Linked DNA regions of Homo sapiens: regions 2, 3, 4 and 5 are each linked to region 1. The links are contacts of gene promoters, found by promoter capture Hi-C in human tissues and cell types (Jung and others, 2019). All regions are on one chromosome and are shown on one strand. The core of a region is centred on a gene start or on the middle of the fragment in contact, and the rest is flanking DNA. Distances in the headings are between cores, read along the strand shown. Region 1 holds the start of NTN3 (netrin 3). Region 2 holds the start of ZNF598 (zinc finger protein 598, E3 ubiquitin ligase). Region 3 holds the start of NTHL1 (nth like DNA glycosylase 1). Region 4 overlaps SRRM2-AS1 (SRRM2 antisense RNA 1). Region 5 holds the start of CASKIN1 (CASK interacting protein 1).

What was found. Contacts are between HindIII fragments. The study calls those that stand out against the background at their distance.
Region 2: a contact is called between the fragment with the promoter of ZNF598 here and the fragment with the promoter of NTN3 in region 1, in 1 of the 25 tissues and cell types used here (dorsolateral prefrontal cortex).
Region 3: the fragment with the promoter of NTHL1 here is called in contact with the fragment with the promoter of NTN3 in region 1 in 1 of the 25 tissues and cell types used here (dorsolateral prefrontal cortex).
Region 4: a contact is called between a fragment that was not itself captured here and the fragment with the promoter of NTN3 in region 1, in 1 of the 25 tissues and cell types used here (dorsolateral prefrontal cortex).
Region 5: the fragment with the promoter of CASKIN1 here is called in contact with the fragment with the promoter of NTN3 in region 1 in 1 of the 25 tissues and cell types used here (dorsolateral prefrontal cortex).

The regions. Positions count from the first base shown.
Region 1 is chr16:2,468,029-2,473,894 of GRCh38, forward strand. NTN3 (netrin 3) reads left to right here and starts at 3,269. Exons shown (of 6, transcript NM_006181.3): 1 at 3,269-4,601; 2 at 4,673-4,861; 3 at 4,957-5,106; 4 at 5,240-5,290; 5 at 5,401-5,475; 6 at 5,728-5,866. The coding sequence starts at 3,674. It overlaps TEDC2-AS1 (TEDC2 antisense RNA 1), which reads right to left and starts at 185. Exons shown (of 1, transcript NR_135198.1): 1 at 1-185. RefSeq lists silencers at 1-83, 94-143, 3,407-3,546, 5,701-5,850 and enhancers at 591-1,134, 1,094-1,233, 1,394-1,473. The HindIII fragment of the contact is 12,116 bases long and covers 1-5,866 here.
Region 2 is chr16:2,006,825-2,012,690 of GRCh38, forward strand. It overlaps ZNF598 (zinc finger protein 598, E3 ubiquitin ligase), which reads right to left and starts at 2,997. Exons shown (of 14, transcript NM_178167.5): 1 at 2,914-2,997; 2 at 2,801-2,912; 3 at 2,700-2,799. The coding sequence starts at 2,923. It overlaps LOC124903626 (a long non-coding RNA gene), which reads left to right and starts at 3,061. Exons shown (of 2, transcript XR_007064941.1): 1 at 3,061-3,278; 2 at 3,484-3,764. RefSeq lists enhancers at 1-823, 2,723-3,671, 3,196-3,355 and silencers at 2,296-2,365, 2,376-2,805, 2,896-3,115, 5,206-5,401. The HindIII fragment of the contact is 21,988 bases long and covers 1-5,866 here.
Region 3 is chr16:2,044,992-2,050,191 of GRCh38, forward strand. It overlaps NTHL1 (nth like DNA glycosylase 1), which reads right to left and starts at 2,843. Exons shown (of 6, transcript NM_002528.7): 1 at 2,718-2,843; 2 at 1,137-1,375. The coding sequence starts at 2,832. It overlaps TSC2 (TSC complex subunit 2), which reads left to right and starts at 2,994. Exons shown (of 42, transcript NM_000548.5): 1 at 2,994-3,074; 2 at 3,596-3,762. The coding sequence starts at 3,625. RefSeq lists enhancers at 2,247-2,746, 2,338-2,397, 2,848-2,937 and a silencer at 3,028-3,257. The HindIII fragment of the contact is 27,107 bases long and covers 1-5,200 here.
Region 4 is chr16:2,740,690-2,746,555 of GRCh38, forward strand. SRRM2-AS1 (SRRM2 antisense RNA 1) reads right to left here. Exons shown (of 6, transcript NR_027275.1): 3 at 2,863-3,030. Among named protein-coding and RNA genes, the nearest start is that of SRRM2-AS1, 9.0 kb to the right of the region's middle. The HindIII fragment of the contact is 3,657 bases long and covers 434-4,090 here.
Region 5 is chr16:2,193,824-2,199,689 of GRCh38, forward strand. It overlaps CASKIN1 (CASK interacting protein 1), which reads right to left and starts at 2,782. Exons shown (of 20, transcript NM_020764.4): 1 at 2,516-2,782. The coding sequence starts at 2,609. The HindIII fragment of the contact is 36,898 bases long and covers 1-5,866 here.

The DNA of each region.
Region 1 (5,866 bases), core at 2,019-4,518:
ACCTGGCCCAGGGCTCGTCGCTGGCCGCGCTCAGTGCGGGCCTGGGGCTTCTGACCGCCGCCTTCCTGTGCTGGCGCGCTCGGCGGAGGCGAAGGGCCGGGCGCAGGGAGCCGGGGGCGCCCTGAGCCGCGGGCGAGGCCCCCTCCCATCGAGGTCACCGCGAGCCGGCCGCCCCTCCCTCCAACCTCGCCCCGGCCGGGCGGGCGCAGTGCCAAGCGTGGTCGCAGAGGCCGCCCCCCACACCCCATCCCCAAATCGTTTCTTCTGGAACCCTTTGGGCAGAGAAGGCCACCGGCCGTTTCCCTCCCTCCCTCTCTGCTTTCCCTCTCTTCCCTCCTCCGTCCAACGTCGCATTTCAGCTTTTGACTTGGCGCGCAGAGCTGGCGCGACCGCAGAGCGGCCTGGCTGGGCAGCGGTCTGCGAGGCTGGGGGATCGACCCGGCGCGAGGGTGCTGGGTGCAGGGCAGCGCGACGCGGGCTCGGCCACACCACCCGCCGTTGGGAGCCGGCGCTGTGTCTGCTCCTGGGCTGTCTGCCTTCGGAGCTCGGTTGGAAACCCCCCGAGGCATAATAGGCGCTCGATAAATGTGCAATAGGTGAACATGTGGTGGCTTGCAGGCGTCTGGGGGGAGACAGCAGGTTCTGGGCTGGGCAGGGAATTATTGGATCAACGGGCATCTTACAGGAAAGACTCTCAGCTCCCTGCCGCCTAGGACTGTCCAGCCCATCTATGCCCTCTCCCCAGCCTGTGCCCCAAAGCTGGAGCTGCCACTCTAGGGGTGAGGGGTGGGGTGGGGAGGGGGAGGCGAAGCACTGCGGCCTGAGTTGCAGGTGGGGGGAGGGGAGGCGGAGCTTCTTTGTTGCAGAAGGTGCCAGGAGGGGGCAGGGCCAGTGGAGAGGTGGGAGGTGGGAGAGGCCCCAGCCAGGGGCTGGGACAGGTGGCTGGGTCCCTGGGGAGCAATAAGTCCCGCTTGGGCGCTGTGGGGAGGCCCTTCCTAACTCCCAAACACCATCTGTGAGGGCTGGGGGTGGGGGCAGAGTAGCGTGTGCAGAGGACTGTTCCTGGGGAGAGGCCCTGTGACCAGCGGCCTCCTCCCTGGGGAGCTGGCGGTACAATGGCCCTCTGGGCCCACGGCCTCCCGCCGCTGCTGCTGACCCAGATGAACAATTGGGGCAGGGCTGAGCCCCAGGCACCTACTTTCCCCCACCCCAGAAGCCACCAGACGTTCTGCAGACCCCAGTCCTGGCTCACAGGGAAGCTGAGCTGGAGACAAAGCCAGCCCCTCTGATGAGGGTGGAAGAGGCTGCTGGCCACTGTCCCTCTTGCAGCCTGGCTGGCAGCCAGTCTGGCAGTGGCCCTGACGTCCAGAGACAGCTTGGGTTTCCCCAGAGGCTTGTCTCTGGCCAGTGGGACCCCTCTGTCAGGCCTGGGCTTTTCTCTCCACTGTCCCAGAATGATGATCTCAGCCCCCATAGTCCCCCCAGGGTTCCTCCCACCCTTAGGGTGGGGTGTCGGGGGGTGGGGGTTGGGAGCCAGAAGGACCTTGAAGAGGGTGGTTGGGACGTTTCAGGTTCTAAGCTTGACCCACAGAGCGGAGCGTGAGCCCCGTCAGGTTGAGGTCCCTCAACTTGTAAAGGACACAATTCCCATTCTCTTTATCAGGAAGCTGAGGGGCAGGGGCCCTGTGGCAGAGAGAGAGCCCCTTAGCCCTCTCTGTTCAGTCCTCCGGTGCCCCCATCCCTGTGCATCTGTGGCTGTCACATGCAGATGTGTGGCAAGGAGAAGGTGCCCACCAGCCAGTGTCAGTTGCTCCAGGAGCCAAGCCAGGTGCCCTATCACCCTGTCTTCCCGTTCCTCCCCTCCATGGTCAGGCCCTCCTGCTCCCTCCTCTGGTCCTTCAGTTTCCCCTAGGAGGCTTCCGTGTCCTCCTGCCCCTCCTCTCCCCAACAGCGGGATGCGTCTACCTCTCCATTCTCTTCCTCCTGGTCCTTGCTCATCTCTGGTCGTGTCCAGGGTAGCACCCACGTGGCCTCCTCCACCAGCTGCAGGCCTGGCCTCCCATCTGAAACGGGGCATTCAGGCCTCGATGCTGGCCCTGCACGGAACTTGTTCCCTGCCCCTCCCTGGGATGCTTGGCCTCCTCTGTCAAGGACCTGAAAGTCGGAGGGGAGGAGGTTTCTCTGACCAGAGCTGTTCCTGGACCCTCTTTGGTGGTGTCGCTCCCAGGCACAGCTACCCCATCCCCAGCTAGTCCCCAGGCCACCCAGCTGGGCTTCTGCCTCAGTTTCCCTGCCCAAACGTGCTGTGACGTAGGGCAGTGGGCTCCGGGTTGCGACCAGCCCCTTCCCATGATTAAACCCTACTCCCTGCCCCTGCAGAGGGGTCCTCAACAGCTAACCAAGCCCCCGAACCCCAAGAAGCCACCCCATCCCACCCTCCAGCTTCCATGTCCTCCCTGCCAGCTGGGCCCGTGGCAGAGGTGCCCCTAGAAACTTGCAGACCCAGGGAGCTTTGGGATCAGAATCTGGCCTGGTGCAGGGGATGCTGGCCTCATGTCTTAGCCCAGCTCAGGCCCATGGGGGTGCCCCCCTTCCTCAACATGGGCAGGAGACACTCCAATTTGTGCAGCTCTCGACTTGGGCCTGATGCCACTTGAGACTCATCAAATCCAACAGCTTCAGAGCGCGTGCTGAGTAACAGGCATCTGGCAGGTGAGGAAACAGGAGCCCAAGACATGCAGCCAGAAATGGGGCAGTTGGATTCAAAATTAGACCTGACCGAATCCTGGGTTCCTTCTACTCGAGTAGATGCTGCTTTGGGGATGACCCTTCAACTGGTGGTTACTTGGCTTCCCTACCTGGGGAACATCCAGGGCCTCTGCTGTCAGACCCGGGGCCTTGCCTGCCTGATGGTCTTCAGGGAGGAGGCGACCCAGACCCCCGTCCAGCACGTGGCACAGCCCCAGGAGCAGTAAAGACCTGGCTGTGGGCCCAGGACCCTGCTGGGTGGTCCCCCACGGGCTGCGAAGGCTGAGCTGCCCCCCTCCAGACCCCTCCCGCCAGCGCATTCCTGGCTCCCCGGCCCCTCCCCTGGCTCCCGGGCCTCCCAGCCCCCTTCCCCGCTGGCCCAGCCCGCGTCTGAATCTGCTTCTGATTCCAGCTCTGCGATGAGGCCCCCTCCCCTCCCCTGCCTCCTTCCCGACCCGAGCAGCCCCGCCCCCGGCTGGGCCCGGGCTTGCGCCTGCTGCGCCCCCCACCCCCTCCTGGCACAGCTCGTCCGCCCTCGCTGCAGCCGGGAGGAGGCGGCGGCCCGTGCACCGCAGGCCCCGCCCGCCCACGGCCCTTCCCGGGAGGCCGGGAGACCTGCTCCGCCCGGCCCTCGGTGGGTGAGTGCGAGCGGCGGGTGGGGCCTCCGCGGGCGGAGGCACCGGGAGCGGGGGCGACGCCTGTCATCGCTCTAGGCCCAGCGGGAGGACGCGCCAACATCCCCGCTGCTGTGCTGGGCCCGGGGCGTGCCCGCCGCTGCTCCCACCTCTGGGCCGGGCTGGGGCCGCCCGGGGGCCCTGTTCCTCGGCATTGCGGGCCTGGTGGGCAGAGCCGCGGAGAGGGCTTCTTTTCCCCAAGGGCAGCGTCTTGGGGCCCGGCCACTGGCTGACCCGCAGCGGCTCCGGCCATGCCTGGCTGGCCCTGGGGGCTGCTGCTGACGGCAGGCACGCTCTTCGCCGCCCTGAGTCCTGGGCCGCCGGCGCCCGCCGACCCCTGCCACGATGAGGGGGGTGCGCCCCGCGGCTGCGTGCCAGGACTGGTGAACGCCGCCCTGGGCCGCGAGGTGCTGGCTTCCAGCACGTGCGGGCGGCCGGCCACTCGGGCCTGCGACGCCTCCGACCCGCGACGGGCACACTCCCCCGCCCTCCTTACTTCCCCAGGGGGCACGGCCAGCCCTCTGTGCTGGCGCTCGGAGTCCCTGCCTCGGGCGCCCCTCAACGTGACTCTCACGGTGCCCCTGGGCAAGGCTTTTGAGCTGGTCTTCGTGAGCCTGCGCTTCTGCTCAGCTCCCCCAGCCTCCGTGGCCCTGCTCAAGTCTCAGGACCATGGCCGCAGCTGGGCCCCGCTGGGCTTCTTCTCCTCCCACTGTGACCTGGACTATGGCCGTCTGCCTGCCCCTGCCAATGGCCCAGCTGGCCCAGGGCCTGAGGCCCTGTGCTTCCCCGCACCCCTGGCCCAGCCTGATGGCAGCGGCCTTCTGGCCTTCAGCATGCAGGACAGCAGCCCCCCAGGCCTGGACCTGGACAGCAGCCCAGTGCTCCAAGACTGGGTGACCGCCACCGACGTCCGTGTAGTGCTCACAAGGCCTAGCACGGCAGGTGACCCCAGGGACATGGAGGCCGTCGTCCCTTACTCCTACGCAGCCACCGACCTCCAGGTGGGCGGGCGCTGCAAGTGCAATGGACATGCCTCACGGTGCCTGCTGGACACACAGGGCCACCTGATCTGCGACTGTCGGCATGGCACCGAGGGCCCTGACTGCGGCCGCTGCAAGCCCTTCTACTGCGACAGGCCATGGCAGCGGGCCACTGCCCGGGAATCCCACGCCTGCCTCGGTGAGGCCTTGGAGGGTGGCCTGGGGACCTTGGACACAACCAGCCTGCCCCTGACCCATCCCTCCCTGCAGCTTGCTCCTGCAACGGCCATGCCCGCCGCTGCCGCTTCAACATGGAGCTGTACCGACTGTCCGGCCGCCGCAGCGGGGGTGTCTGTCTCAACTGCCGGCACAACACCGCCGGCCGCCACTGCCACTACTGCCGGGAGGGCTTCTATCGAGACCCTGGCCGTGCCCTGAGTGACCGTCGGGCTTGCAGGGGTGAGCCACCACCGGCCACCTGCAGGCCCTCACCCTCTGACTTCCCAGATCCCCAGACAGGCTTCTGACCAGGCCCTTCCCACCTCTGTCCTCAGCCTGCGACTGTCACCCGGTTGGTGCTGCTGGCAAGACCTGCAACCAGACCACAGGCCAGTGTCCCTGCAAGGATGGCGTCACTGGCCTCACCTGCAACCGCTGCGCGCCTGGCTTCCAGCAAAGCCGCTCCCCAGTGGCGCCCTGTGTTAGTGAGTGACCCTGCCCCGCCTCAGCCACCAAGCCAAGGCCACCCCAGCTCCCTGCTGTTGTCCCGTCTATTCCCCGAGCCCTGCAGATCTCTCTGCCCCTCCATCGCAGGCCATTCTCCCTCCCTCTCTGCAGAGACCCCTATCCCTGGACCCACTGAGGACAGCAGCCCTGTGCAGCCCCAGGGTGAGTGGACACAGGACAGGGCCCCAGACTGGCATGACTTTGGGGGAGGGGGCTCTGGGAGGAGAGGGTGGGGAAAGGGAGTCTGTGCCAGCCTCCCACCTTCTACCCAGACTGTGACTCGCACTGCAAACCTGCCCGTGGCAGCTACCGCATCAGCCTAAAGAAGTTCTGCAAGAAGGACTATGGTAGGTGCCCTCAGGCCTCCCGCGGACCTTCCCACCTTCCTCCTCTCCCTACCTTCCCTCCTCCGCCAGCTTCCCCTTGGAACGCCTTGACCCTTGCTGGGCCCCAAGGCCCATCCTCATCCCTCAGGTCCTCCACGGGCAGCGACCCCGCCCCTTCAGCCCCCACTGCCCTCCTGGTGTCCTCCCCGTGCCTCCCCCTACCGCGGGCAGGCCGCCCCTTCCTGACCCCGCCCCCTCTCGCTCTCCCCGCAGCGGTGCAGGTGGCGGTGGGTGCGCGCGGCGAGGCGCGCGGCGCGTGGACACGCTTCCCGGTGGCGGTGCTCGCCGTGTTCCGGAGCGGAGAGGAGCGCGCGCGGCGCGGGAGTAGCGCGCTGTGGGTGCCCGCCGGGGA
Region 2 (5,866 bases), core at 1,747-4,246, 460 kb before region 1:
CATGGGGAGAGGCTTGGGGATGGGCTATGCAGCAAATGATGAGGGGAAGGGCACTCTACGTGAGCCCTGGAGACGGCCAAGCTAGGCCCCAAGGAGAGCAAGAGGCAAATGGGGTGAGGCCTGCTTAGGAACAGGAGGCCCCCAAGACCCCCCACAGGGACAGGTGTGGTGTCTGCCTGGGGCCTTGCTGCTCTACACTCCCCAGCATGTCATGGGCACACAAAAGGACAGCGGTGAGGGCCTGCCCACACGTGGGGAGGGGGACCCTGGGGTTGGCTCCCAGGGCCATCTAGAGAGTCTAGACCTCCAAGGAGCCCAGATGGGGACAGCAGCAGCAGGGAGCATCTTACAGAGGGCCAGGGCCATGGGGGACGGGAGCGGGGTGGGGGGACAGCAGAAGCAGGGAGCATTTTACAGATAGGGCCAGGGCCACGGGGGACGGGAGCAGGGCGGAGGGGGAGCAGTAGGAGTAGGAAAGCATGACCCAAGCCAGCATGTCACCCTCCTGACCTGGGACCTTGGGTAACTGTGGGCTGGCCCTCTGCGCCCCCTCCCACTGCCTGCCTGTAAGGTGCAGGTGGGCTGCCCTGGGGGGCTTGCAGCCTCATCAGGACTCCTGCAGTAACACCAGGGACCAGAGCAAGCTGGAGAGCAAGATGCAAACAGCAGGAACCGGCCCTTGAGAAAGACGCAGCCAGGAAAGAGGCCCAGAACGTGGGGCTCCACCACCCCAGGACCTCTGTCAGCCATGGCCAAGACCAGCGCCCCCACCTCCCACGGAGGGGAGCCTGCCTCGGCTTCCACCCTGAGCACCTGCCAGGGGTCAGGCCCATCTGGCTCCTGGCCTGAGCAGCAGCTGCAGCCTCCACAGGGAAGGCCTGGGTCCAGGTGTGTGGAACTAACAAGCACATGGAGCCAGCCGATTCCACACGGCATCCTGGACACTTTCCTCACAATTTTCGCAAAACCTTAGTCCCATAAGGGAGGCCAAGGCAACGCCAGGGTTCAGGAGTTGAGGGTTGCAGTGGGAATTCCTGAGCACGCATGGGACACAGAATATATTCAGGGGATGGTGCTGAACTCAGTAAGGAAAAAGGAGACTAGAGTGAGGCGGCAAGCTCAAGATGGGAAGAAAATAGAACGAATGCAAAGGAGAGGAGACCAGCAAACAGCAAACTTTCCAGGAGCCCCTCCTTCAGCCCAGTAAGGCGGGGTAGGCCCTAGAGGAAGCCGGCTGGGGGCACCCAGTGCCAAACCACACCCCGGCTGACAGCTCATGTCCGCAGCCCCCAGCCACAGAGCTCCTGGAGGGCGTGGGGCCTACAAGGAATGAGAGCGGGCAGAGGCTGCCACAGTAAGCATACGCAGATGTTCACTCATGTCTTGCATCAGACCTGCAGCCTGGGTCGGGACCTCACGTGCCAAGAACTCCTTAGCGTCTTCTTTCCGGAAGGAAGCTACAGGTGTGCTGGGAAACCTAGCTGTTGGAGAGTGAGGTCATGCTATGCAGGACTGGCTGGCAAGGCAGGCCCTGGCAAAGCCAGGAAGCGCCCTGAGGAAGCCACGGGCCAAGGTCCTCTGTGACTGTTCCTGCACCCCAGATCTCCCCGGGGTCTGGGTCGGCCTCCTCCTGTCACATGACAGACTGATAGAATCTCCAAATGTCTTTTTCCAAAAAGGGCACAGACTATAAGCCCACAAATTGCTCAGAGAATTGCAGCATCTCTTCAACTCCTTTGATGTAAACGTCTACTTAAAGAAAGAAAAGGAAAAAAAGAAAGAACCTACACCTCAATACTGCTCTGCATCACTTCTGGGGAGAAGAAAGTTAGATTCCTGGCAGATGTCACCAGCCGAAGCCTTCTATGAACAAACCGGGGGAATTTCACAATGCTGGAAGCAAACAAATCTCTAAGCTCAGCAAACCAACGGGCTCCAGCCAGGTGCCCACAGCCAGCAGCTGGCAGTGCAGTGAGGGTGGAGGAACGCTGCATGGTACCCTCTGACCCCTCCACGGCTTCCAAGTCTGTACAGTCAAAAACGTCTCCCATTCACTGCGGAGATGAGCGCCAAAGGCGGGGGGCGGCGGCGAGGAGGAGGACAACTTCCTAACACTTTTCTCCCTTCCCGCCAAGAAGCGCGAGGGGGCCTTCCCCTCCGACGGGCAGGTCTCCTTCCGAGGCTAGTGTCACCTCCACTCCACAGAGGAAAACGTCAGTCTCGGAAGGAGTTTGCTCAGGGTCATCCAATGGGGGCCCAGAAACACAGCTGGGCTGAGAATGCCCAGAGTTTGACGCCCTGCTTCCAGGACGGATGGCCTCCGCAGAGTCCCCCTTGCCTTGTTTCCTCGAATGGAGGACCCTGGAAAATAAACTCCTGAAGACGAGCAGGTCACCGAGTTCTCCATCTGATCAGGACCCTTCCTGAGGCCCGGCAGGAACCCCCGGGACACGGGGGAAGTCCCCAGGCTGTCCCCACAGGGCTTGCCCCCTCCTGCAACCCGCTCGGCCGCCTCCGGCCTCCAAGCCCCAACGCCCCGCCGTCAGCCGCACGGCCGGGACCCCGCCCTGGGTGGCCCCACCAGGCCTCTCTCGGAAGCCGGCGCCGCCGGGCCCACGGCCGGACCTCAGTGAGGCAAAGTCCCCATCCGGTCGCCGGGAGCCCCGCTGCCCCCGGGCCGCGCCCCCGGCGCCCCGCACCTGGCGCAGCTCCTCGCGGCACACGGCGCAGTAGCGCTGCTCGCAGAGCACCCGCATCTTGGTAGAGCAGCGGTAGCACACCGGGTGGTCGCAGCGGCCCCAGCGCCGTGGCCTCCAGGTCTCCGCAGCACAGCACGCAGCTCCCGCCTCCCCGCTCAGGAGCTGCCGCCGCCTCCGCCTCCATGTCCGCGCGCCGCCCCTCGGCGCCCCCCGGCCGCCGCCATGGTCCGGGATCCGGCCCCCCTCTCGGCCGGTCGTGGCGCCGAGCGGCCTGGCTCCCGGCGGGCCCGCCCCTTCCGGGCAAACGTCACCGCCCCACCCAGCAACGGGCCCGCCCGGCGCAAGTGCGCGTCGCGACTTCCGCCTCAGCGCGGCGCCGGCTAGAGCGGTGGCCCTGATAGAGGCCGCTCTACCATGAGCCGACCGCTCGAAGGTCCGCGCGGCCACGCGGCCAGCCCCGGGCTCCTCTGGGCCACGCGTGTCACGTCAACACTCGCCGGGCTCCACGAACTGGCGTTGTCAGATGAAACACGGCACAACTGGTTTGCATCTCAGATGAACAAGGGGTCATGTCTTAGTGTAAGTATAGCCCAAATATTGATGGGCTAGGCTCATACTAAAATGCTGCTCCTTATCTGAAATTGACATTTAAGTGGACCTGCCGTATTTGTATTTGCTAAATCTGGCCACCTTATTAGGAAACCGGTCTCTGGTATTTGGAACACACACAAGCGTGGTCCCGCCTCCACTTCCCTAATGCCCTGTTTAAATCCCTACATGAAAGACAACGTGAAAGGCAGCACGTGGTGACGTCCATCTCGCAGCCCAGGGCAGTCTCGCCAGGCCTGCCCAGAAGGGGCCTCTGGAAGGCACGAACGGAACCTGTCCTCTTTACGCTGGGCCCAGCACAGGACGTGTTTGGATGGATGCTGCAGTAACAGGGCCTCCTCCCTACCCTTGAGGGCCAGGCACACTCAGGACCTCCCTCCCTCTGCCATCCAGAAGGCAGGTCCAGATCTAAACCCTACTGGAAAAGAGGCAGTAAATTGTATCAATGAGCCTGAACTTTACTTACTTTATTTGAGACCGGGTCTTGCTCTTGCTGTAACACAGTGGTACGATCACAGCACACTGAGGCCTCAACCTCCTGGGCTCAAGTGATCCATGCCCAGTGAACTTGGACTTTAGAAACAGACACAAATGGGCTTGAAACCCCAATTTTGCCACTTGAAAAAAGCTGTCAGGCACAGTGGCTCAAGCCTGTAATCCCAGCAGTTTGGGAGGCTGGGTGGCCCGGATTGCTGGAGCCTGGGAATTTGAGACCAGCCTGGCCTACACAGTCAGGCTCCATCTCCACAAAAAAAATTTTTAGGCCGGGCGTGGTGGCTCACGCCTGTAATCCCAGCACTTTGGGAGGTTGGGATCACCTGAGGTCAGGAATTGGAGACAAGCCTGACCAAAATGGTGAAACCCCATCTCTACTAAAAATACAAAAATTAGCCGGGCGTGGTGACATGTGCCTGTAGTCCCAGCTACTCGGCAGCCTGAGGCAGTAGAATCTCTTGAAACCGTGAGGCAGAGGTTGCAGTGAGCCGAGATCACGACAATCACGCCACTGCACTCCAGCCTTGGCAACAGAGCGAGACTCCATCTCAAAAAAAAAAAAAAAAACACACACGACTAGAGTGCAGTGGCGTGATCTCGGCTCACTGCAAGCTCCGCCTCCCGGGTTCACGCCATTCTCCTGCCTCAGCCTCCTGAGTAGCTGGGACTACAGGCACCCGCCACCACGCCCTGCTAATTTTTTTTTTTTATTTTTAGTAGAGACAGGATTTCACCATGTTCGCCAGGATGGTCTCGATCTCCTGACCTCTTGATCCACCTGCCTTGGCCTCCCAAAGTGCTGGGATTACAGGCATGAGCCACTGTGCCTGGCCAAAACACACAAAAATTAACGGGGCGTGGTGACATGCGCCTGTAGTCACAGCTTCTCGGGAGGCTGAGGCACGAGAAACGCTTGATCCCAGGAGGCAGAGGTTTCAATGAGCAGAGATTGCGCCCCTGCACTCCAACCTGGGCCACAGAGTGAGACTCCATCTCAAAAAAAAAAAAAGAAAACTGGGAAAAGTTATTGTAAGGATGTAAGAAGTTCAACATCTTGGCTGGGCGCGGTGGCTCACACCTGTAATCCCAGCTTGAAATTGGCACTTTGTGAGGCTGAGGCAGGTGGATCACGAGGTCAGGAGATCAAGACCATCATGACTAACGCGGTGAAACCCCATGTCTACTAAAAATACAAAAAGAAATTAGCCTGGTGTGGTGGCGGGCGCCTGTAGTCCCACCTACTCCGGAGGCTGAGGTAGGAGAATGGTGTGAACCCGGGAGGTGGAGCTTGCAGTGAGCCAAGATTGCGCCACTGCATTCCAGCATGGGCAACAGAGTGAGACTCCATCTCAAAAAAAAAAAAAAAAAAAAAGGCCACAAACTTGGCTTAAAACACACAAATGTATTATCTTTAGTTCTGGAGTCCAGACTCTAACGTGGGTCACACTGAGCTAAAATCAGGGTGTCAGTATCACTGCATTCCTATTTGGAGGCTCCAGGGGAGAATCTGCTTCCTTGCCTTTTCCAGCTGTTAGAGGCTGCCCGAACTCCTTGGCTCATGGCTGCTTTCTGTCTTTCAGAGTTGACTCTGGGGGAGGCCAGTGGTCCAATCTTTTTTTTTTCTTTGAGATGGAGTCTCTGTCGCCCAGGCTGAAGTGCAGTGGCACAGTCTTGGCTCACTGCAACCTCCACTTCCCAGGTTCAAGCAATTCTCCTGCCTCAGCCTCCCGAGTAGCTGGGACTACAGGCACCCGCCACAACACCCGGCTAATTTCTTTTTGTATTTTTAGTAGAGACAGGGTTTCACCGTGTTAGCCAGGATGGTCTCCATCTCCTGCCCTCATGATCCACCCGCCTCGGCCTCCCAAAGTGCTGGGATTACAGGCGTGAGCCACCCCGCCCAGCTTTTTTTTTTTTAGGTGGAGTTTCGCTCTTGTTGTCCAGGCTGGAGTGCAATGGCACAATCTCGGCTCACTGCAAACTCCGCCTCCCGGTTCGAGCAATTCTCCTGCCTCAGCCTCCTCAGTAGCTGGGATTACAGGCATGCGCCACCACGCCCGGCT
Region 3 (5,200 bases), core at 1,593-4,092, 420 kb before region 1:
TACCTGACTCACTGGAGTAATGTGAAGCTTAAATGAATTATCTCAGTGCTTAGAATCGTATGTGGCCGGGCGTGGTGGCTCGCACCCGTCATCCCAGCACTTCGGGAGGCCAAGGCAGGCGGATCACCTGAAGTCAGGAGTTTGAGACCAGCCTGATCAACGTGGTGAAACCCCGTCTCTACTAAAAATACAAACATTAGCTGGGTGCGGTGGTGCATGCCTGTAATCCCAGCTACTCGGGAGGCCGAGGCAGGAGAATAATTTGAACCTCGGAGGCGAAGGTTGCAGTGAGCTAAGATTTCACCACTGCACTCCAGCCTGGGCAACAAGAGCAAGACTTGGTCTCAAAAAAAAACCCAACACGATCGTATCTGGCCCATCACTACTGAACAGCCATTGGCCACTACTATTATGATTGCTTCGTGAATCATCACACTACCCTTTAAAACAAATTTTTTTTTTTGAGATGCAGTATCACTCTTTCACCCAGGCTGAAGTGTGGTGGTGCCATCTTGGCTCACTGCAACCTCCGCCTCCGGGGTTCAAGCGATTTTCCTGCCTCGCCCTCCTAAGTAGCTGGGGTTACAGGTGCCTGCCACCACACCTGGCTAATTTTTGTATTTTTAGTAGAGACGTGGTTTCGCCACATTGGCCAGGCTGGTCTCGAACTCCTGACCTCAGGTGATCCACCCGCCTTGGCCTCCCGAAGTGCTGGGATTACAGGCCTGAACCACCATGCCTGGCCCATACTACCCATTTTACAGACAAGCAAACTGAGGCTCAGAGAGGCCTGTATCCAAGCCACCTGGTAGCAGAATAGGGATTAGAACTCAGCTTGGTCTAAGGGTTTCAGGCCCTGGGACCGTGAAGCAAAAGGAACTCTTCCTTCCTGATATCACACAAAGCCCAGGTCACGCCTGCACTGGGCAGAAGTTCGAGCACGAGGCCCTAAACCACTGGTGTCCTGACCTGCTGAGTGGCTACAGTGATGCAGGCGATGCTCTGGGGCACCGGGTGTCCATCCTCCCAAGGTGCTGTCTGCAGGGGAGGGTGCCAGCCAAAAGCCACCGGGTAGAAAGAAAACAAGGACCTTGCTAAGATGGGGGGTCATCTGGGCAGATGGGGCCCCTGCCTACCTTTGGGGGGGCACTGGAGTCATAGCAGTGCTCAGTCCCCAGATGGTCCACAGGTGCATCCTTTTTGTTCCTCATGGCACGGATGTTGACCAGCTGTTGCTGCCAGTCCTGGGGCTCCCAGACTGGCACCTTGAGGGGCTCAGCCCCCTCACCTTTCTCACTGTCCGAGCCCTCATAGGCCACACGCAGTCTCTGTGCTTTCCGCGGACGCTTCACGGGGCTGTGGCTTTTCCTCGCTTCTGCAAAAAGCACCACGCAGTCCCTCTGGTGGGGCCACAGGTGAAGGTAGGGTAGGGGTGCCATCCCGCCTGCTAGCTCACCCCTCACTCGTTCATGCCACAACTGTCCATCATCTAATACACTTGGGGTGCTCTGCCCTCTGCAGTCTGGGGTATGTGGGCCCTCCTTATGCCAGCGACCCTGACAAGGTCCATGTTAGCTCATGAGGACTCTAGCAACAGCCTGTACCAAGGTGCCCCCAATACATCTTCTATACTGCACCAGAGACAGTCTGCTAACACCCACATCAGGTTGTGTCACTCCCTTTTAAAAAATCCTGGCCGGCCGGGCGCGGTGGATCAAGCCTGTAATCCCAGCACTTTGGGAGGCCGAGGTGGGTGGATCACTTGAGGTCAGGAGTTCAAGACCAGCCTGGCCAATATGGCAAAACCCCATCTCTACTAAAAATACAAAAGTTAGCCGGGTGTGGTGGCAGGGGCCTATAGTCTCAGCTACTTGGGAGGCTGAGGCAGGAGAACTGCTTGAACCTGGGGGGCGGAGGTTGCAGTGAGCTGAGATCACAACACTCCACTACAGCCTGGGTGACAGAGCAAGACCCGATCTCAAAACAAACAACAAAACCTCCTAATTGACTTCCGTTTACTGTCATAATAAACTCCAAACTCTATCCTGGCATCAAAGCTCCTGCCACCCTGGCTGGCATCACCACCTGCCTGCTCCCAGCTGCACCAGTTCCTCCTGACATAGTCTGGACTACCCCTGGGGTCCCTGGGTGCCTATGGGAATCCAGCTCTGGCCAATTCTGCAGAAGTCCCAGCGGGACTAGCGCAGAGGCCCTGTCCGTGTCCCTCACTGCTCACTGCAGTGCTTGGCCCCCAGCAGGTCCTCAACGGCTGCAGGATAAATATAATAAGTGCCATGCCCTTTCCTGTTTTCCCTCAGAGGCACCCTCCCCCGAGCTGGGGGAGCAGGCTTCTGGCTGCGTGTGTCCTTGGCACCCAGCCTCTCCGAGGACAGCAAGTTCACTGCAGGAGGGCGGGGATGGGACCCACAGAGCCTGGAGTGGAGAGTCCCGGACAGAGTGGTGGGAAAGGAAGCGTTTTCTTGCTTGGGGCGAAAGGGGGCAGCGGAGCGGAGCGCCCGAAACCCAGCCCCTGCGGACCGCAATCTTTGGGAAAAAGGCGCAAGGTGGGAACGCAGGGCCGCACGTGGGAACCGTTCGCGGCTGCCGGGTTTGCAGCCCCTGCCCGCGCAGCTGGGAGCCGCAGGAGGCGGCCCGGGACTCCAGCCTGCAGCCCCTATCCCGCCTCCTCCCACGCTCCAGCCACGGCGCGGCGCTACCTGCTGCAGCCTCTCTTCTCCGGAGAGGCCCGGGCTCCTCCCTACACCCCCGCGGCCCAGCCCCGGGTCCCAGGCTCCGGCTCCGGGTCAGCATCCTCGCGCTCAAGGCGGTCATGCCGGACTCCTGCGGACTACACATCCCGGCGGCCCATGCGGCCCCGTCACGTGATGCAAGGATCGCCGGCCTTTCCGCCAGAGGGCGGCACAGAACTACAACTCCCAGCAAGCTCCCAAGGCGGCCCTCCGCGCAATGCCGCTACCGGAAGTGCGGGTCGCGCTTCCGGCGGCGTCCCGGGGCCAGGGGGGTGCGCCTTTCTCCGCGTCGGGGCGGCCCGGAGCGCGGTGGCGCGGCGCGGGGTAAGTGGCGGTCCCCACGGGGCAAGTGGCGGTCCCCACGGGGCAGCGGCCTAGAGAGGCGGACCCCGCAGTGTCCGGGTCCCGGGCCCTCACCCGCGCCCACTGCAACCCGACTCCGGAGCTCCGAGCATCCCTTAGTTTTAAGTCATGGCGGGTGCGAACGGGTCTCTGCTGCAGGCGGCTCCGTGACAGCTCCTGCTTCACATGGGTAGAGGAGAGACGGCAAACGTCGGGGCTCCCAGGACTTCGCGGCGGCAGTCCTAACCCGTGCACTGAGTCGGGCGGGGCGGGCGGCAGCGTCTGAGTAGAGAGCTCTCTAGACCAGGCCTGGTGTCTCCCGGGCTTTCCTAGGTGCCTGTTTGCGAGCTGGTCAGCTGGGCTGTAGTTGAGTTCTCCCAGGGAGTGTGGGAGGAAAGGTTATGCCCACCAGAGACCCAGGGTCCTGACGGCTGGAGGTCCGCAGTGGGGAAGGTGGGCAGAGGTGTTGCTCAGATGTCCCCATTCCTGTTTCGTTTGCACAGAGGGGTTTTCTGGTGCGTCCTGGTCCACCATGGCCAAACCAACAAGCAAAGATTCAGGCTTGAAGGAGAAGTTTAAGATTCTGTTGGGACTGGGAACACCGAGGCCAAATCCCAGGTCTGCAGAGGGTAAACAGACGGAGTTTATCATCACCGCGGAAATACTGAGAGTGAGTGAGCTACCTGTGTCTTTGCTAGGCTAGAGGGAAATGCAGAGAAGGCTGGGTTTGGTCTTGCACCAGGTTCTGTGGGAGACGGGTTGCTGGCAACTGTCTACACAGGAATGCTGTCTCCAGTACTTGGAGGCCGACATGTCCTTCCTCAGGAGACTTCGAAAGTCAGGATCTTGGTGACCTGGTTCAGGCACACTTGAGTTACTATTCAGATGTTGATGAAAGAAAGCCCATCTTATAGATGAGGCCTGAGTATCATCATCTTCACAGGTAAGGATATGTCCAGGTGTTACATGATAAGATGTGAGTTCCTGGGAGAAGTAGGTTCTTTATTTTATTTTTTTTTTGAGACTGAGTCTTGCTCTGTTGCCTAGGCTGGAGTGCAGTGGCACAATCTCTGCTCGCTGCTACCTCTGCCTCCCAGTTTCAAGTGGTTCTCCTGCCTCAGCCTCCTGAGTAGCTGGGACTACAGACACGTGCCACCACACCCATTTAATTTTTGTATTTTTAGTAGAGATGGAGTTTCACTATCTTGGCCAGGCTGGTCTTGAACTGCTGACCTCAGGTGATCTGCCCGCTTTGGCCTCCCAAAGTGCTGGGATTACAGGCATGAGCCATCGCACATGGGCTAGGTCGTTATCTTTTATGTGTGTTTGTGTCTTTGTCACACATGCCTGGCATTGTGTTTTGCCCATGAGTAAATGCTGAATTTTTGCACTTGTAAAGTTTTCTACTTAGAAACAACTAAAACGTTCATCAACTGATGAATAAAATATAGTCCATCCTGGCTGGGTGCGGTGGCTCACGCCTGTCATCCCAGCACTTTGGGAGGCCGAGGCGGGTGGATCACCTGAGGTCAGGAGTTTGAGACCAGCCTGGCCAACATGGCGAAACCCCGTCTCTACTAAAAATACCAAAAATTAGCCGGTCATAGTGGTGGGCGCCTGTAATTCCAGCTACTCGGGGGGCTGAGACGAGAATTGCTTGAACCCGGGAGGCGGAGGTTTCAGTGAGCCGTGATCGCGCCACTGCACTCCATCCTGGGGAAGAAGAGCAAAACTCCGTCTAAAAAAAAATTGTGCAGTTTGAAATTGTATTTCATGTTATGTTTTATCTCAATACAACATTTGCAGTTGTGAAAAAAAATTGCACATTCTCAACTCCTCGGGATGGAGCAGTAAAGCCCCTCAGTAAATCTTTTTTTTTTTTTTTTTTTGAGACCGAGTTTCGCTCTTGTCACCCAGGCTGGAGCGCAGGGGCGCGATCTCGGCTCACTGCAATCTCCGCCTCCTGGGTTCAAGGGATTCTCCTGCCTCACTCTCCCGAGTAGCTGGGATTATAGACGCCCACCACCACGCCCAGCAAATTTTTTGTATTTTTAGTAGAGACAGGGTTTCATCATGTTGGGCAGGCTGGTCTCAAACTCCTGACCTCT
Region 4 (5,866 bases), core at 1,012-3,511, 270 kb after region 1:
TCACCTGTCTGGGGCCCCTGGTGGTCTCCCCACGCTTGCCCTGGGCAGGAGGCTCCCTCTGTTCCATGACTGGCCCCCACACACTCTGACTTGAGTCAACCTGGAGGGGCTGGATAGCGGCTGTTTCCTGGCCCCACCCTTCCCTATGCCAGCAATGGCTTCATAGGGAAGCTGTGGATTCTCTGGAAACACGTGATACGGGCCTACTCTGAACTTTCTTCTCAGGTGATCATGATATTTCATTTTATTTTATGTGTTTTTTACCTACTGTGACATAGAAGCAGTGAGAATCCTCCTGGTTCTAAGGCTCAGGGAGAGAGTGCTGGCCCCTGGGCAGGCTCTCCTCATGGCTGGTGGAGAAGGAACTTGGTGGAGTCCCAGGTGGCAGGGGCAGTACGAGGGACAGAGAGGAGGAGGCATCCAAGACCCCATAATGTCACCAATCAGGAGTGTTAAGAGGAGTCCGAGCTTGTTGTGTGAACCCAGTTTCAGGTCCAGCCCCTGCACCAACCCCTGCCTCAGGGTCTGCAGCCCTCTCCAAACTCATCATTATCGCTGCAGCTGGACTTTTAGTGGAAGAGCCTTCCCTTGGGAGTTCTGTGTCTGGGGCCAGCAGTCCTGGGAGGCCTTCTGGAGGAGGTGAGACTTGGACCTGGGAGGGTAGTGAACACAGGGCAGCCTACGAAGGGCCCCTCGAGGGAAGCTCTGGGAGGGTTGGGGTCAGGCTTCTCAGAGCTCAGGCCAGGGGCAGCAGGAGGGGGAAACCTCAGGGACTCAGGTGAGTTTGTCCCAAGGACTGGGGACCACACCGTGACAGAAAAGCAAAGGAAGCTCCAGCCAATGTCCTGGAGCTCAGATGAAGCCACCTCCTCCCTAACCTAACCCTGACGCTAGCCCCTAGCAGGCGGGTCCCAGGTGGAGTCTCTTGGTGCGGAGAAGCAAACAGTGACACCACAGCAATGGACCCAATGGCCACCCCTCACACCACAAGCCAAGCCACGTGCCTGGGGCTGTTCCATCAACAGAGAAGCTTCAGCTACCTGGGAATGCTGTGTGGCCCACAACCTCCACTGTCCTGGCCCTAGGCACAAAATGAAGCTGTAGAATTCTCAGACATGCCTGGCCAACATGGTGAAACCCCAACTCTAATAAAAACACAAAAATTAGGGCTGGGTGCAGTGGCTCACACCTGTAATCCCAGCACTTTGGGAGGCCGAGGTGGGCAGATCACGAGGTCAGGAGATCGAAACCATCCTGGCCAACATGGTGAAACCCCCATCTCCACTAAAAATACAAAAATTAGCTGGGTGTGGTGGTATGTGCCTGTAGTCCCAGCTACTTGGGAGGCTGAGGGTGCAGTGAGCTGAGATTGCACCACTGCACTCCAGCCTGGAAACAGAGTGAGACTCCATCTCAAAAAAAAAAAAAAAAAAAGAAAAAGAAAAAGAAAAATTAGCTGGGTTGGTGGCGCACCTGTAGTTCCAGCTACTCAGGAAGCTGAGGCAGGAGAATTGCTTGAACCCGGGAGGTGGAGGTTGCAGTGAGCTGAGATCGCACCACTGCAGTCCTGCCTGGGCAACACAGTGAGACGCTGCCTCAAAAAAAAAAAAAAAAAAAAAAAGATTCCTCAGACCCAGGAGGCAGACACCGGCAGTGGGGAGTCCATCCCATGGGGCTGCTGGCCTGGGCTTAGCAGGTGCCATGTCCAAACCAGACTCTAAAGGGCTGGGTCATGGGCCTTGGTAGAGGGCTGGGACACCTGGGGTTGGGGGAGGGCACCATAATCTAATCCTCACAAAGATGCCACTGGAGTGGGGGCCAGGAGACCCAGGGCCTGGACAGACTGGAGCAGTGAGCAGAGGTCTCAGACAGGCTGGCCTGGACCCTCACGATGGCCCCATCCCACTGAGTACAGGCTCCACACCAGATACTGCCCACTCTGCCCTTTGCAGGGACCTGCTGGTGGCCTCTGGGCAGGGACTCTGCCCCTCTGAGTTCTGTCTCCCAGAGGCCTTGGCATCCCACCCTCTACCCCTGGGCTGGTGGAAGGAGCCAGGGGGACACATGAAGGCTCTCAGAGCAGAAGCGGCCGGCGTAGTCCTCACAGTGAGGGCCAGGCACACCGCACGGGGGGTTCTAGGCTCTGGGGTACGAGGTCCCGTAGAGTCCCCCAGCACTGCTCCTGCTGAGCCTGGGATACCAGCCCGGGGATGGAGCCTGAGGGGTCCACAGAGGCCTTTCTCGTGGGAGTGGAAGGGAGGCTTTGCGTTGTCTGTGTTGGAGATCATCCCTCACTCTAGAGCTGTGCTGCAGCCAATACTAGGGTATGGGGTGGCTGTGTTAGGAGGGAGGAGATGATTTCACTGTAAGTGTGCAGCTTATTTAGGAAAAGTGTAAAGCGTCCTCGAAAACTTGCCAGCCAGCTGGACGCTGGGGGAGGCTCTGCTTCTCCAGGCAAGGATGTGGCAATGCCCGACAGGACGGCGGGCCTTCTCCTGAGGCGCGTGGTTCTGCCACCGGCACATCCCCAGGCCTTCGCAGAATGGAGGCCCAGGGTGCACAGAGCAGGGAAAGTGCTGCTGGCCACACCCCCTTGGCCAGGATACCCCCACCCCAGCCCTCTGTGGGTGTCTGGACCAGGATCTGCTCCTCGGAGGACCCCCACAGGGCTCCCACCCTGCTAGTCTGAAATCTGCTCCCTCCTGTACGACCCTGTGACCCTGTCATGGGACTTCATCCCAAGTCACCTCACCCTGGCTCCTCCACCATTAAGGTCCACGGTGTCCCCATGGGCAGCCAGAAGCCATCCAGAGGGTGGGGCATCTGGAGAGTGTTTGGAAAGCCGGGCCCCATTCCTCATACCTCACCAGGTGCCGGCAATGGATACAGATGGAAGCATCCACAGAGCGGCCATCCAGACAGTGGAGGAAAATCTGGATGGATTCCTTTCTGGTTTGGGAGCGGGGAAGGCTTCCTGAGCACCATGCAAAGCCAAGATCATTGCTCTCACTACTTACAAACTGAAATCTTCTGCAACAAAAACAACAAACATCGTTGGTAAAGTGTAAACGGATGCTGTCAACTGGAAAGAAACATTTGGCAGGTCACATGAGAAACAGACCCAGTTTCCTGGATATTTGCAGGCGTCTTGGAAAAAGAGAAGAGGAAGGCCAAAGACCCCAAAGAAACAGAGTGAAGGGACCTGTGATTCCTTTGTGAACACCACTACCCCATGATGAAGGGGAATCGAGGTAGAAGGGAGGATGCCACTGCTGGTTTTCAGATGGAGAGAGTGTCCTGAGGATCTGGGGCCCAGTGTGATCACAAGGGTCTTGAAATGTGCAAGGTCAGGCAGGAGCCTCAGAACATGGAGAGGCAACAGGGGAAAGCCTTGTCCGCCACTACTGGCTTTGGGGATGGAGGCAGCTATGAGATAAGGGTCTCAGGCAGCATTTGAAGCTGAAGGCAAGGAGATGGATTTCTCATTGAGAGCCTCCAGGCAGCAACACAGTCCTGGGGCACATGCGTTCCAGCCGGTGAGACCCCTGTTGGACTTCTAGCCGCAGAACCGTCAGGTCCGATACTGGAGTTTATAGCCACTTGGTTTGTGCGAATTGGCTGCGGCAACCACAGGAACCTCACGTGGGGTCTGCACACACAGTTCACAGGAAGGGAAATTAAAATGACCTCTCATGTACAGAGGATCCTCAGTCTCATAACAGGGAAACGCAAACTTCTTGGGGAGAGAGGCAAAAAGCAACACACCCTGGGCCAGGCATGGTGGCTCATGTCTGTAATCCTAGCATTTTGGGAGGCCGAGGCAGGTGGATCACTTGAGGTCAGGAGTTTGAGACCAGCCTGGCCAGTATAGTGAGACCCCGTCTCTATTAAAAATACAAAAATTAGCCGGGTGTGGTAGCATGTGGCTGTAATCCCAGCTACTCAGGAGGCTGAGGCATGAGAATTGCTTGAACCCGGGAAGCAGAGGTTGCAGTGAGCCAAGATCACGCCACTGCACTCCAGCCTGGGCAACAGGGTGAGACTCAATCTCAAAAAAAAAAAAAAAGGCAACACGCTCTGGCGGCAAAGTTTTGTTGAACAGGCATCTGGGCACTACAGGCAGGGAACAATTAGTACCTGGCTGCAGAGGGCAGAGTGACCCCATTGACCAGGTCACAGATGCATTTATGCTGTGACAGAGATGTCCCTCCGGGCCAGGGCAGCGCAGCATGCTCCTGACACAGCTTGGCCTGTGCCATGAAGAAGGCAGACAGCCACAGGGGGGTTTGTCCAAAGATACACAAGGCATGGGAGAAACCAACCCCAGGCTGACCCACTGGGGTGGGACAGGTAAGGGGGGAAGGGCAGCAAGCCAGACTCCTCCCAACACGCTTTGTATTTTTGAACTATTTGGAGTCGCTCTGTATTGGAACATTTTCTGCTCAAAACACAGGGACTGGTCTGCCATCAAGTAACGGTATTGGAGCCAACCTTCTCTGGGGGCAGATTGGGCCACTCAGGAGCTCACAAGCCCTCCTCAGCCCTGCAGGTACCTGCCTGGAGGGGCCTCTGCACAGGGCATTCCTGGGTGGGCAAAATCAGCCACACTGGCCTGGAGGGAAGCTGGGGAGGGGGGAATTGCGGCTGTGTATCACAGAGGAAGACAGCAGCACTGCCACTGGGGCTGACCTGGAAGGTGCGTGGGGCTCTGGGGTAGACCCAGCCCTGGCACACAGGGCTTCAGGCACTGGAGACCTCACCTAGCAAACCCCGCACACACAGATGGAGACGGAGTCTTTAGTGTACAGGGGTCGATGAGACCCCTGCAGGAGAGGGACTGCATCTTGGCCACCCGTTGCGTCTCAGCCCCCTACTTCCTGCCCCTGCCTGGCTGTGCAAGCTCTCCTCTCCCTACATCTGCCTCCCACTGTTCCTACACCCCAAGTATGGAAAGGTCCCCTCTCCAGGGCCCCCGAGGACTGGAATCCACATTCGCACCTACGGCCTTGAGTGGTGCTGGGCATACAGCCCACTAGACGATCTTCCTCCCTGGTTTAGGCACCTCGGGCACCCAACCCTGCAGAGAGCAACACGCTCAGCTGGGGGACTGAGGACTCCCCTGAGGCTGTGGGTGCTTGTCACTTGCAGAAGGGCACCTGGAGGGATGGGCGTGGGCCCTGTGCCTCCTTGACAGGCCCATAGGTGGGGATTTGTGTGTTGGGACCATAAGCTCTGACTGCAAACAGAATTTTAAAAACCCCACTCACAGAGAGCTAAGCTGACAGCTTCCTAGCTCCCAGAAAGAAGAGCTGAGCTGTGTGAAGGCTGCAGGCACTGTGCCGAGCACTGTCCCTGCTGAGGGGAAGTGCATCGTGTCCTGGCCCACGAGCCGAACCTGGGTCACAAAGGTTTCCACAGGCTCCCGGTGCAGCATTGAGGAGTGGGCGCGTCTGGCTGCGGTCACCAAGCTGGAGCAGGGAAGCTGCTAGGGCTCCTGGATGCTGCCTGGATTTGTCTGCCACCTACCTGCCCCTGGATCTCTGCACCCACCTACTAGCCTGATGACAATGTTGCCTGACATGGTTGGTGCCTTGAGCACCAGGAGAATGCAGAGCTCCATTTTTTTTTTTTTTGGAGACAGAGTCTCACTCTGTCGCCCAGGCTGGAGGGCAGTGGCACGATCTCGGCTCATTGCAATCTCCACCTCCCGGGTTCAAGAGATTCTTCTGCCTCAGCCTTCAGAGTAGCTGGGATTACAGGTGCCCACCATCACACCCAGATAATTTTTGTATTTTTAGTAGAGATGGGGTTTCACCATGTTGCTCAGGCTGGTCTCAAACTCCTGACCTCAGGTGATCCACCCGCC
Region 5 (5,866 bases), core at 1,532-4,031, 270 kb before region 1:
TGGGACACACTAACCCCCATTCCTGTGGGGGGACAGTGGGTACCCAGGAAGGTCCCAGAACTGAGAAGGGCCTGGGGCTGGGGGCTGTTTTCACCTGGAAACGGGTTCTCTGGATGAAGCAGGAGCAGAGCATGGCTGGAGGGGGCCGGGGCCAGGATGAAAGTCCAGGAGCCCCCCTCCCTCTCCACGAGGTCCCTAAGCCCTGTGACTCTATGACAGTAAAGGCCTTACCCCCGACCAGCCCTCTCACTGCTATCCTGAGCCTGTCCCCACCTCTGGGGTCCAGTCCATATCCCAGGCTAGAAGGGAGCTACTAGTGGGCTATTAGAAGGTGAGAGGGGGATGGGGAGCTGGCCCTCGGTGCTCAGGGGTGTCCTCCACGGCATTCTTGGGCCTGCCTCCATGGACAGGGGGCCTCCATGGATAGGGTCCGGGTCAGAGGGAAGAGTGGGTCCCTCCTGGCCAGCAGGAGGCCAGCCCCTGCACCGGCATCTCCCCCAGAACAGGCTCCTCTTCCCCTCAAGGACAGCTGCTAAGTGTGTGCGTGCGGGCACGGGAGGCTCCCTTCAGGGCAGGGCGAGTCGGGGGCTGGCTGAGCCTGGGGTGACTCTGGAGCAGGGGCTGGAGGGAAGGGACTGGGCAACCAGAGGGGACCATGGAAGCAAAGCTCATGGGGACAGCCCTGGGCTCACGGGGCCCTGGAGGATACTGCTGGACACCCCCCACCTCGTGGCCCAAACTCAGCTGTACTTTACTGAATCAAAATACATCTTACTCCAAAGCAGGCCAGCGTTGCCATGACGACGGAGCTAATTCATGGAGGGATTTCTCCTCTGATTTATTACACCCGCCCCTGTGAGTCAGAGAGCAGGAGCCGGGGCCAGGGCAGGTGTCTCTCCTGTCCCAGAGGCCAGGCAAGACAGGCAGAGACCCAGGTGAGAGTGGAAGCCCCCACACCTCCCCAGAATGGCCACAATAGAAGGGAGGAGGAACCTCCCCAGAGCTGAAGCCCCCACTTCCCCAGCCCCTGGCCCTGGGCCGTCCAAGACTGCGGTCATTGCTGGCATTTACTGAGCACTTACTGAATGCCTGGGCTGCAAGTGCCCAGGCTCACTGGTCTTAGGACCCCACCGTGAGGCTGACATCCCATCCTACAGACGAGGAGACTGAGGTCCACTGAGCTGGAGTTGTCTGTGTCCAAGGTCATGCGGCCACTAGGTGGAAACCTTTACCTTGCCTTCCCTCAATCCCTACACCTGCTCTCCAGGCTCAGCTGAGGCTGCCTCTGCCCACAAGCTCTCCCTTTCTGAGCCCCCGGACCTGAAATCAGCTCGGGGCCAGCCTGCAAGGCACCGGTGCCCCCTCTCTCTTACTGCACAGAGTGGACAGGAGCTAGCCAGTCATGGGCTGCTGGTGAAGTACGGGGGAGGGGGTCCTCCTGGGACTCCTAGGTGCCCCCAACAATCTCCCAGAAGCCAGTCCCAGTTCTCGGCATCCCCCTGGAGGAAGGGGAGGGGGACTCTCTGGCTTACAGTCTGTGGGGGTGGAGGGAGGAGGGAGGACGCCCAGACCCCACGTGCCGACCTGCAGAGCCCTGTCCGTGCCCGCACAGGTGCCCTGACACACTGACACGGCTATACGTGCGCAGCCGCACACGCGGCTGGTCCACACGCCCATCCATCCATCTCCGGCGGCCCCCAGGGAGGCTACGCGCTGAGCCAGGATGAGTGCTGGGACCAGGGCTCCAAGCTCCCAGCCCTTTCCTGGGGCCGGCCATAGGGCAAGCTGGGGATGGCCAGTGGTGGTCCCCCACTCCCTCATGGCCTCCTTTCCCAGCAGGGAAGCTGGAGACCCGGCTCTGCTGGAGCCTGCCTGAGCAGGGCCCCAAGCCCTTGCGCCCAGGCCGGCCCTGCCTGGAGTCCAGCCTGCCCTGGGCTGGGCGACCTTGGGCCTCTGCTCTCCCATCAGTAAATGGCACCCCACCGGCCATGCCAGGGCAGCCACACCCCCAGCGTGGTCCTGCCCCCACCTTCCCTGCAAAGCGTGTTATTAAACGTGGGGCGGGAGGGGGTCTGCTAGGGACTGTCACCTCCCGGGTCGCCCCTCGCCGCAGGGGCCCCCTCCCTGTCTTCCCGGTGCGTGTGGTGGGTGGGGGGGGCATCCGCCTCGCCCTTTGAAGGCCCCAGCAGAGACCTCCAGCTGTCAGCCCGCAGCCTGGGAAGGGAGGGGGACAGAGGTAGAGAGAGAGGGATGCGAACGCCCGCGGCCCGGGAGGCGGGTGCCGCCAGGTGCCCGCTGCGGGGCTCACGGTGGCGGCCGGCTCTCGGGGCCGCCCCATCTCCAGTGCTGGGGGCAGCGGGTGGAGGGCACGGACCAAGGGTCTGGGCGCTGCTGGCCCCGCCCCGCCCCCGGGGACCCGACAACGTCCCCTCCCCGCCCGGCGCCGGGTGGGGGGCTCCGCGCCGGGGAGGGGCCCCCGGGGCTCCCACCCGCGCCCCGCGCCCCCGGCACTCACTGGCCTTCCCGGGCCGCGGCCTCTGCAGCAGCCTCTGCGCGGTCCCTACGTCCTCCGCCTTCACCGCCTGCACCAGCTCCTGCTCCTTCCCCATGGCGCGGCCGGGGCCGCAGCGACGCGGCTGCGCTCGTGAGCTCGGCGCGGCTCAGAGGCGGCGGCGGCCCCGCGGCACCGGCCGCCTCCCCCGCCGCCTCCCCCGCCGCCTCCTCGCCGCCCGCCGCCCCTTCGCCCTCCTCGGGCTCCGGCTTGGGCTCGGGCTCCCGGCGCGGAGGGGGCGGGGAGCGCGTCACGGGCGGGGGGCGGCCCGGGGGCGGGGGCGCGCGGCGGGCGCGGGGCGGGGGCGCGGCACCTGGCGCCGCCTCCCGGACGCCGGGGTCCGCTCCCGGGCCGCCGACCTCCGTCAGCCCGCGCCGGCCGCGCGCCCGGGCCCGTGGCTCCGCCCTCCCCGCGCCCGCCCCGGGACGCCCCCTCCCCACGTGCGCGCAGCGCGCTCAGGCCAGGCCTCTGCGGACGCGGGCGGCCTGGGGCTGCTAGCCGGGCTGGGGACGCGGCCGCCGGGGGTGCACTGGGAGCCCCGACGCGGCGGCGGCGCGGGGCTGAGCCCAGAGAGGCTTCCAGAGGCTGCGGGACCCGCGGGGGACGGTTCCGAGGCAGCGGGCGGGCGGGGACCGGGCGCCGAGAGACCCGGGCGCCAGTGCCCCTGGAGCCGGCCCGCCAGGCTGTCAGGCGTTCCTGGCCCAGGGTTCCCGTGGGAGGTGTCGAGGGATTGTGAAGAGGAATCTCCCAATAATGAATTCGGTGTCAGGGAACCCGCACCCCCAACCCCCAAGCATCCTCCTGCTCCTCTCCGCAAATAATGCGGGCGCCACAGCTTCCCCCAGCCTCAGTCCGAAGCCTGACCCCAAGGTAGCCCCCACCACCCCCACTGAGGGAGCTCAACTCCCCACTCCCCGCACCGACTGGGGGTCGCCTCCATCTCCATCCACAGGGGCTGGAACCTCCCGCCGGCACCAACCGACCCCCGGCCCACGTCTGCCCACTCTCCAGCCTGCAGCCCAGGCAGGCGAGTCCTGCTTCCTGGGTGCTGGAGGCCCCGACTTGTGACCCTCTGAGCTCCTGGCTGAAGGCTTGGGCCACCCTGCGCCTCAGGCCCTCTCCCGTCAGGCCTGCAGCATTCTAGAGGCAGATCAGTGGGGGTCTGAGTCCCGACTCAGGCTCCGTTTCCCTCATCACCCAAGCGGGCAAGGCCGTTTGGAGAATTTGGGGAGGGTCGCACCCATTCTATGAGGCATGGCCTGGCACCCCACTCTGTGTGGCCCCAGACCATTGAGCAGGTCCAGGGGGACAGAGGAGGTCAGACAGCAGGGACAGGGAAGGTGACAGGCACCGGGGTCCCGGCATCCTGTGGGCAGCTGGCCGTTCCCGTTCCCTCCGTGGGGTCTCCTGTTAGGTTCAGGTAGCAGCCCTTGGTCTTCCAGCACTCCTGGGAGGGGTCCCCAAATGCTAGGGCCTTTCCTCTTGCCCTTTCCAATGACCAGTTGAGTACCCGCTGGGTCAGGCACTGTGCTGGTCACCTCCTAGATGAGGTTGGACTCACTGTCCCCATTTTACAGATGAAGAAACTGAGGCTCAGAGAAGCCAAGGGGCTCACCTGGGGTCCCAGAGTCTTGAGGTTGTAAGTCTGGGCTTTGCACCCGCACCTCTGGATGTGTCCTATTCCCCCTCTTAGTGGTTTGTGACCATGAGCTGGTCACTTTGTCATTCTTTTTTCTGAGACAGGGTCTCGCTCTGTCGTCCAGGCTGGGGTGCAGTGACGCCATCATAGCTCACTGCAGCCTCAACATCCCAGGCTCAAGCAGTCCTCCCGCCTCAGCCTCCTGAGTAGCGCCCGGCTAATTTTTTTTGATTTTTAATAGAGATGAGGTCTCAGTATGTTACCTAGACTGGTCTCGAACTCCTGGCCTCAAGCAGTCCTCCCACCTCAACCTCCCAAAGTGCTGGGATTGCAGACGTGAGCTACCACACCCAGCCCACTGCCTAAGTGTCTGTGCCCCTCTGTAAAATGAGGATATGCATGCTACCTCCCCTTAGGTTACTGGAGGATAAATTGTGATACTATCCACAAAGCATTTCACGGCAGGACTTAGTAAGTGCTCAAAAAAATGGCTGCTGTAGATATTGTGATATTCTTGGGCCTCTCTGCCTGTGCAGCAACTGTGTTTTGTGCATCTTTGTATCTACGCTACCTTGCAGTGTGAAGAGCACATAGGAAGAACTAAAAATAAAAATAAGATAGCTGCTGGCATTACTATTACTTTTATGTTTTGGACATGTTAAGGCAAACCACCCTGACCTGTGCTTAACACACAAACAGAAGCCCACACACCAAATGTTCAAATATTTAAACGCTACAAATCACGCCAGTCACCTGTTAAGTATGTTCTATTCTCCTACCTTGACAAATATACCTTCATCATGGCCTGAAAGCCCAAGTTCGAATTGAGAATTCTCAGATTCCTCGGGTGATGAACTGGCCCCCGTTTGTAGCTACCTCACCTGTTCTCTGCTCAGCTCCAGCACTGTCCACACCCCATAAACAGGCACCCCCTTAGTCGCTCCTCAGAGCTAGGGTGGGCACCCTGCTGCGTGGCCCACCTTCAGGAGGACAGACTGGGCAGAGGGCTGTGCCGATCCTGGAAGTGGGCTTGGGGCTGTTTGGGCAGGAAACTCCAGGGTCCTACGTGCTCAGAGTGTGGTCTAGAAGGGGCACCTAGGCTCCAGGTGGATTGCTGCTCAGGACCTCAGAGATTCCTCACCCCATGGGGTGCAGTGTGGCAGGAGGGGACCAGAGCCTTCTGCTAGGTGAGGATAAGCCCAGGAGGGACTGGGAAGCGTTGGATCTGATGCTGTAACCAGTAACTTTGGGTGAGTCCCCGATGCTCAGCTGCCTCATCTGTGAAATGGGCCAGCAGCTCCGCCTGCAGCTTAGGGCTGACGGGAAGGTCCCCATGAAAACAGATGTGTGTCTGCCTGGGGTCCCTGCAGCCTGGGGATGGGGGGGCAGGGCAGGTGGCCACTCTGGCTGGGGGATGAGGATGCAGAGGTGTGGGACTCGGGCAGCCCTCCAGGAAGTCAAGCCTCCAAGGATGATCCTGGGAGGGGGCCTCTGAGCCAGCAGAATTGCTGAGGCTCAGCCTGGAATGGAGCTGGCGGAGGCTTCACTGCAGCCTGGGCTGGCCTCCTTCCCAGATGTACGGTGTGTGCCGGCCAGCCCGCAGCCCCTTCCTCTGCCCACTGGCTGTGTGTCTGCTCAGGGGCTCCCTGGTGGTCCCCCAAGCCCCCAAAGCTCTG